Linked DNA regions of Homo sapiens: region 1 is linked to region 2. The links are contacts of gene promoters, found by promoter capture Hi-C in human tissues and cell types (Jung and others, 2019). All regions are on one chromosome and are shown on one strand. The core of a region is centred on a gene start or on the middle of the fragment in contact, and the rest is flanking DNA. Distances in the headings are between cores, read along the strand shown. Region 1 holds the start of GJC1 (gap junction protein gamma 1). Region 2 holds the start of C1QL1 (complement C1q like 1).

Region 1 (2,700 bases), core at 16-2,515, 140 kb before region 2:
CATATAACAAATTTAGACTTATCAGGCATACAAGATGACCCTCAGCCTGAACTTATTCAAACTTAACTTACTCGATTTCACATCGTCTTGATGCTAACAAAATTAAGCATGAGCATAATGAAATCGGTATCACTGCCAGTTCTCAATGAACAAAAAGAAAACCAAATTCGCCCATTTCGCAAAGGAAAAGTACTCCCAATCAGACAATCGCAAAAAAAAGAACAAAATCTAAACCATACATTCACGTACATCTTTTCAACTCAGAGCTCCAAACGCAGCCGCCAACCACACAACTGCCCACAATCACAGCGGTAGCGCCTACTCTTAATTTTGAAGCTAGAGACTTAAGGAAACACACACACACACAAAACAGTTCTCAAGTTTGACAAAGTGGGGGAAAAGTCATTTTAAGTAAAGACAACGAGTTAATCAGGAGGCGATGAGCCCAGTCCTTCCGCCCCGCTTTCCCGCTTCCAGCCCTCGAACGAACCCTCCTCTAACCCCCGGGAGGCAGGAGTTCCAGCGGGGAGATGCGGGAAGCCTCAGACGAGCCCGCACGCCGCCGGAGACGCAGGGATCGAGGTCGGGGAGACAAAGAGCAGCCCGCGAAGAGCCCGGGCGGCGAGGGGCGGCCCGGCTCCGCCCTGCGCCCCTAACCGCCCGGGTAGTTGTCGGCACCGCCGGGGCGCCGCCGAGTGCGCGCCGCTTCTGTCCGGGCTCCCCGACCGTCGCCCGACACCTCCGCGGCCCAGGACACCCCCGAGCCGTTTCCCTCCCGATTTGGGAGCCGCGCGCCTGGGGACAAAGAGGGAGGGTGCGCCGGGGACAGTGGCAGGACGCGGGCCGGCGACGCCCCTCCGGACTCGGCGGGAACCCCTCGGCGGCGCCCCCCTCCTTCTCCCGCTCTGGCCGCGCTCCTCCCCGGACCTCCGGAGGTTCTCCTCGGCCCCTCCCCGGGCTCCCCAAGAGTTCTCCCGCCTCCCCCTGGGACCCCGCCCCTGGCCCGCTTCTCCTCAGCCGGCCCTGCGGCCGCCCCTCACCCGGCGGCGGGTTCCCCCGGAGCCGCCTCCTCCGCCGGGCCTCGGCCCGTCCCGCCGGTCGCGGCCTCATGTGCCCCGCGTCGCCATCGCCTTCACCCTCGCCTCTCCTCCACCTCCTCCGCCGCTGCCGCCTTCGCCTCAGTCTCCAGCCGAGGCAGAAGCCGCTCCCGCCGCTGCCGCCGCCGCCGCCGCCTCCCGCTCCCGCCGCCGCGACCCGCGGGAAGGCGCCTGCGCACTGCGCGCTGCGGTGGGGGCGGGGGCGTCCCGCCGCGGCCCGGGAGCGGGGGGCGCGCGGCACGTGGCGCTCGAGTGGGAGGGGGGCGCCCCAGAACGCGCGGGAAGCGACGCGAGCGCCAACTTTCCGCGGTCGAGTCCTCGCCGCTCTCTCGGATAGTCCGGGACGCGGCGGAGGCGCGGCGCGCGTGGGAGTCACCCGCGTGGAGTCTGGACCCCGGGTGGGCGCAGACTTCGCTCCGGACAGTTCATTCTTCCAAGCTGATTTTCGGGCGAGAGTCCCCCGCCAGCCGCGCCTCAGTTTGAGCGGGCCGCTAACGGCGCCGTGGGTTCTCGCCTTACCTGGGTATCCTGGGTTGGTTTAGCGGGCCCAGAGTTGTCTTCTGCGCGCTCCGCCGAGGCCTTGGTCCATTGTAGCACGGGATGCTAATGTCTCCTCCCAGGTTCTGCTCTACAATTCCTCGAGGATCTGGCGGGCCCTGCGTGGATCTAGCTAGAGTCGGGGCTCTTAGCAGTGCTCTAGATACTTTTCAGGTCCTGAACTTCTCGGATTAGCAAGACCCTAATAGGCTATTTCCTCTTAACTCTTTGCATCCCAGCAGGATCCCATTCAGAGGACTTGGGAAAAATTTTCATGCATAGGAATCCCCAGTTTTAAAATGCCCAGTAGGAAACCGAAAATTCTCCAAATGCTTTAAGTAGAGTAAGACTTTGGGTAATAAAGGAAGGCTCAGTAAAGAGATGGGCGACCTCTGGAATGATCTCATCTGAGCATCAGAATGCCGATGGACAGGCTTTTATTATTTTGCCCTTTTGACCAGAGGGGAAATTAAGCGCTAACAAGTGAGGTTACTTGCTGCAAGTCAAACTCCCCCACCCAAAGCCAAGCCCTAAGGGGTAGCCCCAGAGTGGAAATCTTGAAGGCTAGGCATCTAATGCACTGACCAGTTTTGTGTGGCCAGTATGTTTTCCAAAAATATGAATTAGTTACCAAAATATTAAAATCCAGATTTCTGGCCTCCCTAAAAAGTCAAAAGCTGCTTACTTTGAGCTTCTCTTTTCACATGGCAGCTCCTCTTGAGTCACCTTGTCCGGGTAGGCAATGTCCCCACTCAGCTGCTTAAATCATTTCATGACCTGCTTGGCCTCGGAGCATTTAAGTACTTCTCCCTGTGATTGCTGTAGTCTGTCCCCACGCCTTATCACATTGCCTCTCTACAGATGTATTTAAAATGACAAGTGTGGGATGGGCGCGGTGGCTCACGCCTGTAATTCCAGCACTTTGGGAGGCCTAGGCAGGCGGATTGCTTGAGCCCTGGGGTTCCAGACCAGCCTGGACAATATGGCAAAACCCCCATCTCTACAAAAAATACAAAAATTAGCCGGGTGTGGTGACGCGCACCTGTGATCCTAGCTACTCCAAGCA
Region 2 (2,700 bases), core at 121-2,620:
AGCCAGGGCTGTAAGCACCGGGCTCCCTTTGCCTTTGTGCCCCAAACATTTCCTGCAGCCAGCCTTCTCCGCTCGCGCCCATGGCCACGCGCCTAGGCGCCCGCGGGCGCGGATGCTGCTTCTCCCTGTTCCATACGCCAGAGCCCATCCTTGCCCTCCCCTTATCGCCCACTGCTGTCGGCCCGAATCCACTTCCCAAGGGGCAAGCCCCCAAGGGCAAGTCCGTGCACCTGGGAGCCCTGCGCTCTGACTAGTTGGGTTCATTTCCCGCATTTCCAGTAGCGTTCCAGACGGTGCCCAGCAGCGTCTGTCTTGGAGCGGGAACCCAGGAACTGAGGATCGGCGATGTCCGCTGGCTCCGACCATCCCCACACGTGATGACCAAGCGGGGCCGCTGTGGGGTGGGATCTCCACCTGCGTCCGCCTGGCGCCCCCGCCAACTCCGATCAGGTACCCATTTGCCCCGGGCTCCCTGGGTGCCCTGGGCCCAGCCCAGCCCCATGCCCCCGCCTGGCCCACCTGGCCATTCTTGCAGAGGTCTGCCCACATACTGGTGCCGTCGCCGCCGCGCATGAGGACATGGTAGGTGAAAAAGTAGGTGCCGGGAATGTTGCACGTAAACTTGCCGCTGGCCGCGTCGTAGTTGTTGCCTAGGTTGGTGACCACGTCGTCAAACTTGAGTACCTCGTAACCCTCGTGGGGGTTCTTGAGGCCGGCGTAGAAGGCCACGCGCGGCACCGTGGTGTAGGTGGCAGTGCTGATGGCGCCGCTGCCCCCCGCGCCCGGCAGCCCCGGAGGGCCCGGCTTGCCTGGCTCACCCTTCTCCCCCGGCGGCCCCACAGGGCCGGGAGGACCTGGGTCCCCGGGAGGCCCCGGAGGGCCGGGCTTGCCGGTGCGGCCCGGCTTCCCCTGGGGGCCCTGCACCAGCGTGGAAGGCGGGGGCGCGCCGCTCTGCTCGCTCAGGGCGTCGCCGCCGTCGGTCCGCGCGCCGGCGCCGGGGCCCCGCGCGGGGTAGGGGTCGCACACCATGCGGCAGGTGCCCAGCATCTCATAGTGGCCTTCCGGGCCGCCCGAGCTCACCAGCACGGGGATGAGCACCACCAGCACCAGCAGCATCACCACACCCGCGGCGGCCGCTAGCAGCGTCTTTCGGCCCGCGCGGAGCCTGGGGAGCGCCGGGCCGCCCGGCCGCGCCGTCGGGGCAATGGTGCCGGCGGGCAGGGGGCGCGGGCTAGGCGCCCGCGCTCAAGGACGGTCCGGCGGGGCTGCGGGCATGGGGCCGGGCCCGGGGCGCCGCGCTGCGCTGGCTGCGCTGCGGAGCCCAGCCGCCGGCTCCTGCCTCGCGCCTCCCTCCTGCTGCGCTGCCGGACTGAGCGCCGCGGCCGCCGCCTCCCGCCTCCCGCCTCCCGCCTGCAGCCTCCCGCCTGACTCCTCCCGCCTCCTTGAGCCGGGCCACCGCCCCCTCGGCCGGGCCCCGCCCCGCCAGCTCCGCGCGGCTCTGGGCTCTCTAGGGGTGGGGCTGCGGGCGGGGCCGGCGCCTAATTGGGCCGCGGGCGCCTCGAGGTGGGCGGGGCATAAGGGGGCGGGGCCGCGGAGACCCCGGGCGGGAGCAGGGAGAGGAAAGAAGAGACTGAGTACGCGGAGACCGAGATTCGGAAATGGGGTGGGGGCCGGGGTCCGAGAGACCCGAGAGGCGCTCCAAGGGAAGGGGAGAGTAGGGACCAAAATGCGAAAGGGAGAGAGGGCCACAGGGAGAGCTAGAGAGCTCCGAGGGGATCGGGAGAGGAGAGGCTTCGAGGGTCGGTCACCAGGAAAACAGAGGGACTGGGGTCGCGACGGGCCAAGACCCGCAGGGGGCGGAAGCGAGGGGATAGCGCCCAGGTCTGCAGGGGACAAAGAGCGATTGAGGGGAGGACGGAGCGGGGAGCTGGAAGGTAGGATGAGAAAGGGGGTTATGAAGCGAAGAAGAGGATACGGAGGGGACCATTTGGCACTCAGGCCTCGCAGACCACCCGTCTGGGAGATCCAGATATCGGATGAATGCCTGTCCGGGGGCCCAGCGGAGCCAGACGGCAGCCGCCTCCTCCTTTCTGGATCTGACTGTTCCGGGACCCGTCTCCCCCGAGGTGGGGCAGGAGCTTCCAACCCCTCCTCGCCTCTGCCCCTTCCTCACCGAACTGTGGCCAGGCTGCTTTTTCCTGGGCCCTTTTCTTCCATCTCCCTCTGCTCAATCCCTTTACTTCTGCCTCTAGACCAGGGAGAAAAGGGGATCCTAAAAAGGTGGGCACCCCCACGTTATTTCTCCATGCTGACAGATGCAAATACGTCCCTGAGGGGTAACCCCCTTTTCCAGCCTCCAGGATGAGGGGTGGATCTCATCCAGCCCCTCAGCTCCTCCTCCCTCACTCCCCAGCCTCCTCCGCCGCCCCCTAACTCTTCTCCCCATCAGGCTGTGGGAGGCTCTCCTCTTCCTCAAGTGCAGCAAAGTGTTTAGGTTGCATAAACCGAAACGTGTCTGCTTCCATCAAAATATTTGTCACATTATCTGAGGCCCAGGTCGGGCTGCTCCACCGCTCCTCCTTCGCCCTCCTTTATCCGGCCCACCGGGGAGGATTCAGCCATTCGGAGGCGACTGGCCGGCTGCTAAAGAATGACATCCCAGCCTCTCCTCTCCCGAGAGCTACCCCCCGCCGGCTCACA

The links. Contacts are between HindIII fragments. The study calls those that stand out against the background at their distance.
Region 1: the fragment with the promoter of GJC1 here is called in contact with the fragment with the promoter of C1QL1 in region 2 in 1 of the 25 tissues and cell types used here (thymus).

Annotation. Positions count from the first base shown.
Region 1 is chr17:44,829,022-44,831,721 of GRCh38, forward strand. It overlaps GJC1 (gap junction protein gamma 1), which reads right to left and starts at 1,266. Exons shown (of 3, transcript NM_005497.4): 1 at 1,041-1,266. RefSeq lists a silencer at 579-868 and enhancers at 924-1,897, 1,898-2,700. The HindIII fragment of the contact is 21,747 bases long and covers 1-2,700 here.
Region 2 is chr17:44,966,933-44,969,632 of GRCh38, forward strand. It overlaps C1QL1 (complement C1q like 1), which reads right to left and starts at 1,371. Exons shown (of 2, transcript NM_006688.5): 1 at 520-1,371. The coding sequence starts at 1,116. RefSeq lists a silencer at 1,302-1,661. The HindIII fragment of the contact is 17,092 bases long and covers 1-2,700 here.